Regions from separate parts of the Homo sapiens genome. Here all the other regions are linked to region 2. Evidence: promoter capture Hi-C in 16 types of primary human blood cells and fetal thymus (Javierre and others, 2016). All regions are on one chromosome and are shown on one strand. Each heading gives the region's core, a stretch centred on a gene start or on the middle of the fragment in contact. The rest is flanking DNA. Distances are from core to core; before and after follow the strand shown.

The links. The method cuts DNA at HindIII sites, captures the fragments that hold promoters and counts their contacts. A CHiCAGO score of 5 or more calls a contact.
Region 1: a contact is called between a fragment that was not itself captured here and the fragment with the promoter of NEK10 in region 2, in 4 of 17 cell types (M2 macrophages, M0 macrophages, monocytes and 1 more). The highest score is 10.3, in M2 macrophages.
Region 3: a fragment that was not itself captured here is called in contact with the fragment with the promoter of NEK10 in region 2 in 5 of 17 cell types (total B cells, fetal thymus, total CD8 T cells and 2 more); the score reaches 10.3 in total B cells.

What each region holds. Positions count from the first base shown.
Region 1 is chr3:28,374,096-28,377,458 of GRCh38, forward strand. The region is part of intron 1 of ZCWPW2 (zinc finger CW-type and PWWP domain containing 2); the gene reads left to right. Among named protein-coding and RNA genes, the nearest start is that of AZI2, 27 kb to the left of the region's middle. The HindIII fragment of the contact is 2,741 bases long and covers 1-2,624 here.
Region 2 is chr3:27,368,038-27,371,335 of GRCh38, forward strand. NEK10 (NIMA related kinase 10) reads right to left here and starts at 1,346. Exons shown (of 36, transcript NM_001394966.1): 1 at 1,188-1,346. RefSeq lists an enhancer at 604-1,104. The HindIII fragment of the contact is 2,054 bases long and covers 1-1,553 here.
Region 3 is chr3:25,647,296-25,650,710 of GRCh38, forward strand. The region is part of intron 1 of TOP2B (DNA topoisomerase II beta); the gene reads right to left. Among named protein-coding and RNA genes, the nearest start is that of TOP2B, 16 kb to the right of the region's middle. The HindIII fragment of the contact is 2,449 bases long and covers 463-2,911 here.

The sequences.
Region 1 (3,363 bases), core at 4-2,503, 1.0 Mb after region 2:
TTTTCTTATAGTAGTTTCATGGTTTCACATCCTAGATTTAAGTCTTTAGTCCATTTTGATTTGATTCTTGTACATGGTGAGTGATAGGACACTAATTTTATTCTTTTGCATATGGTTATCTAGTTTTCCCAGCACGATTTATTGAAGAGGCTGTCCTCTTCCCAGTGTATGTTCTCAGTACCTTTGTCACAAATGAGCTGAGTGTAAATAGGTGGTATTATTTCTGTGTTCTCTATTCTGTTTAATTAGTCTATGGGTCTAGTTTTATGTGGCTTTGGTTACTTTGGCTTTGTATAGTATATTTTGAACTCAGGTAATGTGACGCTGCCAATTTAGTTGTTTTTGCTCAGGATTGCTTCAGGCTCTATTTTGGTTCCATATAAATGTTAGGTTTACTTTTTCTATTTCTATGAAAAATCTCATTGGTAGATTGATAGGGATTATATTGAATTTGTAGGTTGCTTTGGGTAGTGTTATCATTTTAATGGTATTAATTTTTGCAAACTATGAGTATGGGATGTCTTTTCATTTTTTGTATGTTCTTTTCATCAGTGTTCTCTTCCTCAACTGGTTTTTCTTGTATAGATCTTTCACTTATTTGGTTAAATTGATTCTTAGTTATTTTATATTTTTTGTAGATATTGTAAATGGGATTGCTTTCTTGAGTTCTTTTTCAGATTGTTCACCGTTGGCATATATAAATGCTACTGATTTTTGTATGTTGATTTTGTATCCACAACTTTACTGAATTTGCTTAACAGGTTTTCGTTAATTTTTGTTGATTTTTCTTTCTGGATGATCTGTGTGTTACCAAGAGTGAGGTGTTAAAGTTCCTTACTATTATTATATTACGGTCTCTCTCTCTCTCTCTTTAGATCTTTAATATTTGCTTTGTATACTTGAGAGCACCAGTGGTAGGTGCATAGACATTTATAATTGTTTTGCTGAATCCTCTTGCTGAATTCACGCCTTTATCATTATATAATGATCCTCTTCATCTCTTTTTAGTCTTTGATTTTTACTGTATTTTTCCTGATGTAAGTATAACTACTTGGTTTTTTTTTTTAGTTTTTTGTTTGTTTGTTTGTTTCAAGTTGTATGTAATACCTTTTTCCACCCCTTCACTTTGTCTATGTGTCTTGATAGTTGAAGTGAGTTTCTTGTAGGCTGTATATATTTGGATCATGTTTCTTTATTAATTCAGCCACTCTCTGCCTTTTAATTGGAGAATTGAGTTCATTTAGTCAGTGTTATTATTGATAAGTAAGGACTTAACTACTGCCATTTTGTTGCTTGTTTTCTGGTTGCTTTGTAACTCCTCTCTTCCTTTCATTCTTTCTTACTGTCTTTCTTTGGGGTTAAGTGATTCTCTCTGGTAGTATGTTTTAATCCATTGCTTGATTTTTAAAACATTTTTGTGGGTACATAGGTATATATATTTATGGGTTAACTGAGATGTTCTGATACAGGCATGTAATCTGAAATAAGCATACCATGGAGAATGGGGTATCCATCTCAAGCATTTATCCTTTGAGTTACCTATAATACAATTACATTCTTTATTTAAAAAATACAATTAAGTTTATTATTGACTATAGTCATCCTATTGTGCTGTCAAATAGTAGGTCTTATTCATTCTTTCTATTTTTTTTTTTTGTGCTCATTAACTGTCCACACTTCCCCTACCATCCCCCGTCTACTGTTCCTAACTTCTGGCAACCATTCTTCTACTCTCTATGTCCATGAATTCAATTGTTTTGATTTTTAGATCACACAAATAAGTAAAAACATGAAATGTTTGTGTTTCTGTTCCTGACTTATTTCTCTTAATAACATAATGTCCAGTTCCATCCATGTTGTTGCAAATGATGGATCTCATTCTTTTTTTTATGGCTGAATAGTACTCCATTGTGAATATGTACCACATTTTCTTTATCCATTCATCTATTGGTGGACAGTTAGGTTGCTTCCAAATCTTAACTATTGTAATCAGTGCTACAGCAAACATAGGGGTACCGATGTCTTTTTGATATACTGATTTCCTTTCTTTTGGGTATATACCCAGCAGTGGGATTGCTGGTACTTGATATTTTTAGTGAATCTATTATAGGTTTTGGGGTTGTGGGTATCATGAGTTTACAAAAACATCTTATAGATGTTATTTTAAGGAGATGTCAGCTTATCTTAGAATAGAAACAAATAATGAAGAAATAGAAAAAACAATCTCTACACTTTAACTCCATTCCTCTCACATTTTGACTTTTAATTATTGTATTGACATATTTTTATATTACCCATATCTTTACAGATTGCTCTAGCTATTTTTTGGATAGATTTATGTTTGGAGTTTCATTCTAGAGGTATGAGTCTATTGCACCACCAACTTACAGTACTAGAGTTCGCGGTTTGTCTCTGTACTCAATTTTCCTAGCACACTATGTCTGGCAGATTGTGGGAGGAGTGTCATGAACATAGAAGTCTGATTCTCTATACTGTCTGCTCAGTGTTTTCACTTCTCTTTGGACACAGGGATTGCTTCATCCTCAGATTTCAGTTCTGGGATATTGCTCATCGTAATCTTGGCAGAAGGTATTTGTTTTTAGTTTTCTCTTAGGGAGAAGTGAAGCTTGATTCCTTGTACTCCACCATTTTGGTGATGTAACTTTTGTCGCAAAATGTATGTTGAAATCTTTTGTTCACTGATAACTCCCTAACCTTTTTTTCTCTTTTATGTCTTAAGTGTAATTTTAATGGAAGGAAAAGATAAATTAATTAGTCTGTAATCTTAAACAGAACTGGACAATTTGCTTTCTTTATTTAACAATATATTGTGAACATACTGTTTAAGCATAGGCATGATTTTAGTTTTGAGGTTGAAATTATATTCTTTATTCCTTAGTTATGTATTTAGACAGTTCTAATGAAATTCAAAGTGAAGACAAATATTTTTCCAATATTGAACTCACTGCATGATGATTTTTTTTTTTGTATTTTGTTAGTGATTTCTTTAGAGACCTTTAGTTTGTTTTGTTTCTTTCCAGAGAAAGAATTCCAAATTTTCCTATCCTCAACCTGTTGTTTTACTCTGCAGATTCATATGTCATGCATTAAAGATGCATGCTTTCATTTTTGCATCATGCAATTTAAAACTACTTCCATTTTTACATTCTAATTTTAAAACTTGTGGTAGAGTCCTTTTCTTAATATTTGTGTCGTGATTCTTGAAACAATCATTATGCAGTTCTCACTAGAACTGAGAGTAAGAACGTTATTACTCTTTGTTAGGATTATGACATTTATTTCAAAAACAAGGAAAGTAAATGACAATGTATAAATCAATTTGAATGTCAAGTTACAATTTTC
Region 2 (3,298 bases), core at 96-2,595:
ATTCCAGCACTTTGGGAGGCTGAGGCGGGTGGATCACCTGAGATCAGGAGTTCGAGACCAGCCTGACCAACATGGTGAAACCCCTTCTCTACTAAAAATACAAAAATTAGCCAGGCGTAGTGGCTCGCGCCTGTAATCCCAGCTCTCTGGAGGCTGAGGCATGAGAATTGGTTGAACCCGGAAGGCGGAGGCTGCAGTGAGCTGAGATCGCTCCACTGCACTCCAGCCTGGCAGCACAGCAAGACTCCTTCTAAAAAAGGAGTCTTTTTTAGAAGGACTCCATATATATATATATACACATATATATATATCAGTTCAACAATGGTGGGGAAAAAAGTGGATTGGATAGATAGGGCCAGACTAGAATCGGAGAAGCCAGATGGGTGTTGAATTTAACCAACCGATGGTGGAAATTGAGACAGTAAAAATAGAGATGGTAATGTGGGAATTGATTCAACACCTATTAAGAAGGGATAGTCTTGATAATTGATAGAGATGCAGAGGAAGCAGCAGTAAGTGTCATGGATGTCGTCTAGAGTGTAGTTTTTGAAAGCTGAATGGATAGTGATGCCCAAAATAGGGAATCCAAGAGCAGCAGCAGACATGGGGAAGATGGCGTTCAGGGTTGCACATGTGTGGCGTTAACTTGGCAGCTGGATTTTGGGGTCTGACAGTTAGTAGAGCAGGCTAGGTTCCAGTTGGAGACTTTCTAATCATCGTCAGATAGATGGTGCCTGAGGCGAGGAAGTGGAAGGGCTCACCGAAGTAGGGCAGAAAAGCAGAGGGGCAAAGTCAAAGCAGCATCCTGTAAGGAGAAGGCAGAAAAGCGACGCTCATAGAGATGAAGAATGAACCTCCAGAGGCGTCGGAGCAGATTGGAAGAGACACATTCAGGCTCCATTTAACCAGAATAATTCCGTTATCAAAATGGAAGCGCCAAGAAGCATCGTTGATGGCGCTTTCCCACCATCCATCCGTCCAACACAAACCCACCTGCTTTGAAAAGACTGCCTCACGCAGTGACTCACTTACCCACCACAGCCGCATTCTCTACCTCTGCCTCTTGTCTAGTGAAGCTGGCTCCCGAGGCTTCGGGGCCGCTCCACAGGGACCTGAGGACGTCTCCCCGGAGACCCTGACTCAAGCTGCTCGCCGGCACAGCCGAGCACCGGCTCCCGCCTACTCACCGCGCGGGAGGGACGGTCCCTCCTTCAGGCCAATCTCCTTATCATTGTCCCTGCTGCTGTCACCTGCTGCTGCAGACCGGGGGTCCCGTCCAGTCTCAGCCCGTCCCGTCCTCCCCCCAGCCTATTCCCGGTCCCCTCAACCTCAGGGACACCGCGGCCAGCTGCACCGTTGGTTTTCCAATCAAATCCTCCTCCAGGCCACCAACCAGCGCTGGCCAGGCCAATGCCGACAATTCTTCCTCCGCCACCTGGGGCGCCTCAGCCAATCGGGAGCAGCCATGCTGCGCAGTGCAGAACGCCATAGCGACGGATGACGCCTGCCGGGGAATCGCCGTAGCAACCAGAGACGCGCTAGATCCACCACCAAGCTTGCAAGCAGAAGAGGCAGCAAGTGATGCTGAAGGCTGTGCTGCAGCCACTTCACCGGAACCTAGAGCTACCTGTGAACAGGTCTCCTACACGTTGAAGATTTTTCTGGATTTAGGGTGTCTAACCTTTGATGGGAAAGGGCAGCTTCATCTTGGAGTGTTTACTTTCAAGAATTGCTATGGGCTAAAAATCAATTCTCTTTAAAAGCAAAGATTTAATCTGATAAGGAATCAATGCAGCATGCTAAATACCTTTCATATGGCATGAAAACGTCTTCAGTTACTCAAGCCACAGGCAATGAGAATAAGGTGCCACAGCACCGTATTTTTCACAAAAAGAGTGACCTGGGATTCAAGAAACCTGTATAGTATAACTATCGCCAGTTCGTTTTGTGGCTTTGGGCAAGTCACTTCACCTTTTGTGAAAGTCTGGAGCTTCTTTAAAATTTCTGAACTGCATTAGATAACGCTTTAAAAATATACCTGACATTCTGTAACTTTAAATAAATGAAAAATGCCAATCTATTAAGTGCTTAATTTTGTGCCGGGCACGATTTCAAATTCTTTCCTTATTTCACTTAGTTATAAAATGGAGGCACAAGAAGTTTCCTAAGTAGTCCAGTATGGCAGAGCTAGTGATGGAGTCAGGGTAAAACCTACTTCGAGTCTGGTCTTAACCACGATGATGCTCCTTCGACGATTTCTTCGAGTACTGGGCCCTGTTCAACCTCATCTTGGTATCACTAAACGCTCGTGTGTGTGTCTGGTGGTTACATCTTCCCAAACTGGATTTTAAATGAATACAGTGAACCCTAACGTTTTTCTGGTGTGGATAGTAAGTAGGCCCATTGGATTAACAATACTTAAGCTTGGGTAATTGAAAGCATTTTTTAAAATGAAGACGGTCCTATTTTGGAAATGCAGAAAGGCGAGATGAAAGCCAAACTCTGGTGAGTATAGCAGAACTAATTAAACTTCAGAGATCTAAAACAATCAGGATTAATGTTACCAATAAAACAAAACAAGGTGACGGGGCAGGAAGACCGATGCTGAGTAGAAAAAGTATTCTGTACATACATTCTAAATGTTAAGCAGTCGGCCTGGCTTGGTGGCTCACACCTGTAATCCTAGCACTTTGGGAGGCCGAGGCAGGAGGACCACTTGAGGTTAGGAGTTCGAGACCAGCCTGGCCATCATGGCCAAACCCTGTTTCTACTAAAAACAGAAAAATCAGCCGGGCATGGTGGCACATGCTAGTCCCTACTACTCAGGAGGCTGAGGCACAAGAATTACTTGAACCCAGGAAGCAGAGGTGCAGTGAGCCAAGATCATGCCACTGCACTCCAGCCTGAGAGACACAGCAAGACTCTATCTCAAAAAATAAACATTAAGCAGTGAGACATGACTGCACTGAACTTCTCATCTTCACCAGAATACCAATTGTGCTTCCCATCTTTCCACTACTCAGTAAAATTAAAGTCTTAAACTAATGTTTTGGCCATCCCAGAATATTCCTGAACTTCCCTGAAAGCTGCAGCGATTAAGAGGCAAGAATGACACTGCCTCTAAAAGACACATACACTATCATCTCAAATGTTAAGGGTCCCTCTGTAAAATGACACAAAATAAAATCCCACAAGAGATCTTGCACCAAGCTTATAGCTTATATAGCAAGGCTCAAAACTATGAAAACATATTTTTCTAAGGCCTTTTTTTAAATGAAATGCATAACGTAAATTATAC
Region 3 (3,415 bases), core at 437-2,936, 1.7 Mb before region 2:
GAAGCCTCAAAATAGTTAGAACAAAGATCATAATCATTAAAATCACACTCTAAGAAAGTACTCAAAGAAGATAGATGCTATGGAATCGAAAGTAGGTAACATTTTACCATTAACTTAGAACTGCTATTCTAAGTCTGCAATTATTGACATAAAGGTTGAAGACACATGATAACCATACAAATAAAAGCTTTCGTATTCCAGGCTACTCTTCTAAAACCAACCCCATCACAAAGAAAATATTTTCAAGATTAGACTCAACCAGAGGCTCATGTCTATCTAATTTGTATGAACTAAACTGAACTAAAGGGCACACAGGGATAAAAAAAAAAAAACAGGAGTAAAACCTTACCTCATGCTTTCTTCAAGAATTTACAACTTTTTCCACACTTCCTTACTTATAATCACCACCTCTTCCTCCCTGCACCTCTTCCCAAATGGATATATTACAAAAAAAAGTTTGAAAGCTTGAACCCACCAAATTCCTATCAAGTTCAAAGACTTACCATTCTTGCTAAGATAATGTCTAAAAAAAACAGGTAACATTTGAGTGTGGTCAGCCAGATGGCAAAACAAGAAACCCCAGGCCTTTCTTTCCCCATGAAGACAAGGATTCAACAATAACAAACAATCCAACTGCCTTTGTGATAAGTTCCAGCACCCCAGGTGAGCATAAAATAGCATCAAAGCTCATGTCCTCCCTCCTATCTGCCCCAGCAAGGCAAGATTGAGAAAAACAAACAAGACAACAACAACTTCCACCTTCTCCCTGGGGAGGAGCAGAAAAGGAATATACCTCCAATGGAACAGCTGAGGGCAGTGCTACCCTAGAAACTTCTTGACTGAATCTAAGTACTGACATTGAACAGGGTGCCAGGTTGAGGGCCATTGAAAACAAAAGCAAAGTGCTTTGGTTTAGCATCAGACCCTGCAGTATCAGAAACAGACACAAGGTGGAGCTCCAGTACTGTAGTTTACTACAGCACGAGACGCCACAAGTAAAGCAGACAAAGACACACCAGAGGGAGCAGACAGATGGACAGAGGCAAACCTCTTCAATTAAGAAATTACAAACCCAAAGAGGATGCATCCCCATAAAAGATTTGTGAGGTCTCAGGATTCTCTAGCTAGACTAACTGGATGAAGAAAGTCTTCCCAGTATGAAACCAGACCGCAAAGACCAGAGAGTTAGCTAAGCCTTCAAATGCCAAAGCCCTAACAGAAAATAACAATACAAAGAAACAGGGAAATACAGCCGATTCAATGTAAAAAACTAAATTGCAGCCAGGCGCAGTGGCTCACACCTGTAATCCCAGCACTTTGGGAGGCTGAGGCAGGCAGATCCCTTGAGCCCAGAGCTCAAAACCAGTCTGTGCAACATGGCCAAATCTTATCTCTAGCAAAACAAAACAAAAAAAAATTAGCCAGGTGTGGTAGTGCACACTTGTAGTCCCAGCTACTTGGGAGGCTGAGACGGGAGGATTGCCTGAGCCCAGAAGGTCGAGGCTGCAGTGAGCCATCTGCACACAACTGTACTCCAGCCTGGGTGACAGAGCAAGAGCCTGTCTCAAAAAAATAATAAATAAATCACCACAAATTGAGCCTAAAGAAATGGAAATATATTGTCATACAAAGAATTCAAATTAACTGCCATAAGGATGCTTAATGAAATAAATGAGTACAGATGAACAAACAAAAACTCGGTGTAACAATGCATAAACAAAAGGAAAAAATCAACAAAGATAAAAACTATGATGAAGTAGCAAACATTATTTCTGGAACTGAAGCATACAGTAAATGAATTGAAAATACACTAGAGGGATGTAACAGTAGACTTGAGCAGGCAGAATTTTTTTAAATCAGCAAATTTGAAGACAGGACTTTCAAAATTGCCAAGGGAAAGGAGCAAAAAGGCAAAGGAATGAATAAACATAAAAAGAGCTTAAAGAACTTATGGGCCACTATCTATCAGAACAACATATACATTATGTAAGCCTCAAAGGAGAAGAAAGGGAGAAATGGAGAAAGAGCCTATTTGAAGAAATAATAGCTGAAAACTTTCCAAATCTGAGGACATAAATGCATATACAAATTAAAGAAGCTCAAAGAACTCCAAGGATAAATCTAAAGAAAACTACACCAAGACACATCATAATTATACTGTCAAAAGTCATAGACAAAGAGAGAATCTTAAAAGCAGCAACAGAAAAGTGAATCATCAATTACAAAGGAGCTTCTGTTAGATTACTAGCCAATTTCTCAGCAGAAACCTTGCAAGATAGAAGGGATTGGAAGAATATATCTGAAGTACTGAAAGAAAAAAAAAAAAAACACTGCCAACCAAGAACATTGTATCCAGCAAAAGTGCCCTTCAAAAATGAAGTAGAAATTAATACTTTCTTAGATAAACAAACACTGGGACAGTTCATCACCACTAGGTTTGCCCAACAAGAAATGATAAAGGGAGTCCCTTAAAGCAAAAGGATAAAAAATAGCAACACAGTAACACAAAAATACATAACTCCCTGGTAAAGTCCAAGGAGACTCCAAAAAGTTCTTGGAAAAATGGAATCAAAAGATAAAAATAAAAAATATAAATTTTATTTCTCAACAAAAGCTCCATAAAGGTCAAGACACTTTTATAAGTGATGATATCAGCCATTTAGCTCAACTCTGAAGAACCAAGGGTCTTGGGAATTTAACCATGCCAATGCAGTCTTTTTACATTATCAACTGAAAAAATTAGGTGCCTTTTAAAGATTTAAGATTAGTAAACAAAAAAAGTCAGAAGGAGCAAAATCAGGATTATAAGATGGATGCCTAATTATTTATCATCAAAACTCTCATAAAATTGCTCTTGTTTGATGAAAGGAATGAGCAGGAGTACTGTCATGATGGAGAAAGACTCTGGTGAAGCTTTCCTGGGGATTTTTCTGCTAAAACTTTACCTAACTTTCTCAAAACACTCTTATAATAAGCAGATGTTATCGTTCTTTGGCCCTTCATAAAGTCAACAAGCAAAATGCCTTGAGCATCCTAAAAAACTGTTGCCAAGACCTTTGCTCTTGACCTGTCTGCTTTCGCTTTGATTGGACCACTTCCACCTCTTAGTAGCCATTGCTTTGATTGTGCTTTGTCTTCAGGATTATGCTGGTAAAGCCCTGTTTCATTTCCTGCTACAATTATTTGAAGAAATGTGTCAGTATCTTGATCCCATTTGTTTAAAATTTCCATTAAAAGCTTTGCTCTTGTCTGCAGCTGATCTAGGCACAATGGTTTTGGCACTCATTGAATGGAAAGTCTGTGAATCTTTAATTTTTCATATAGAATTGTGGAAGCTGAACCGACTGAGACATCTATGGTGTTAGCTATTGTTTCTGCTATTAATCATTGGTCCTCTTAAATAAGGGCATGAACA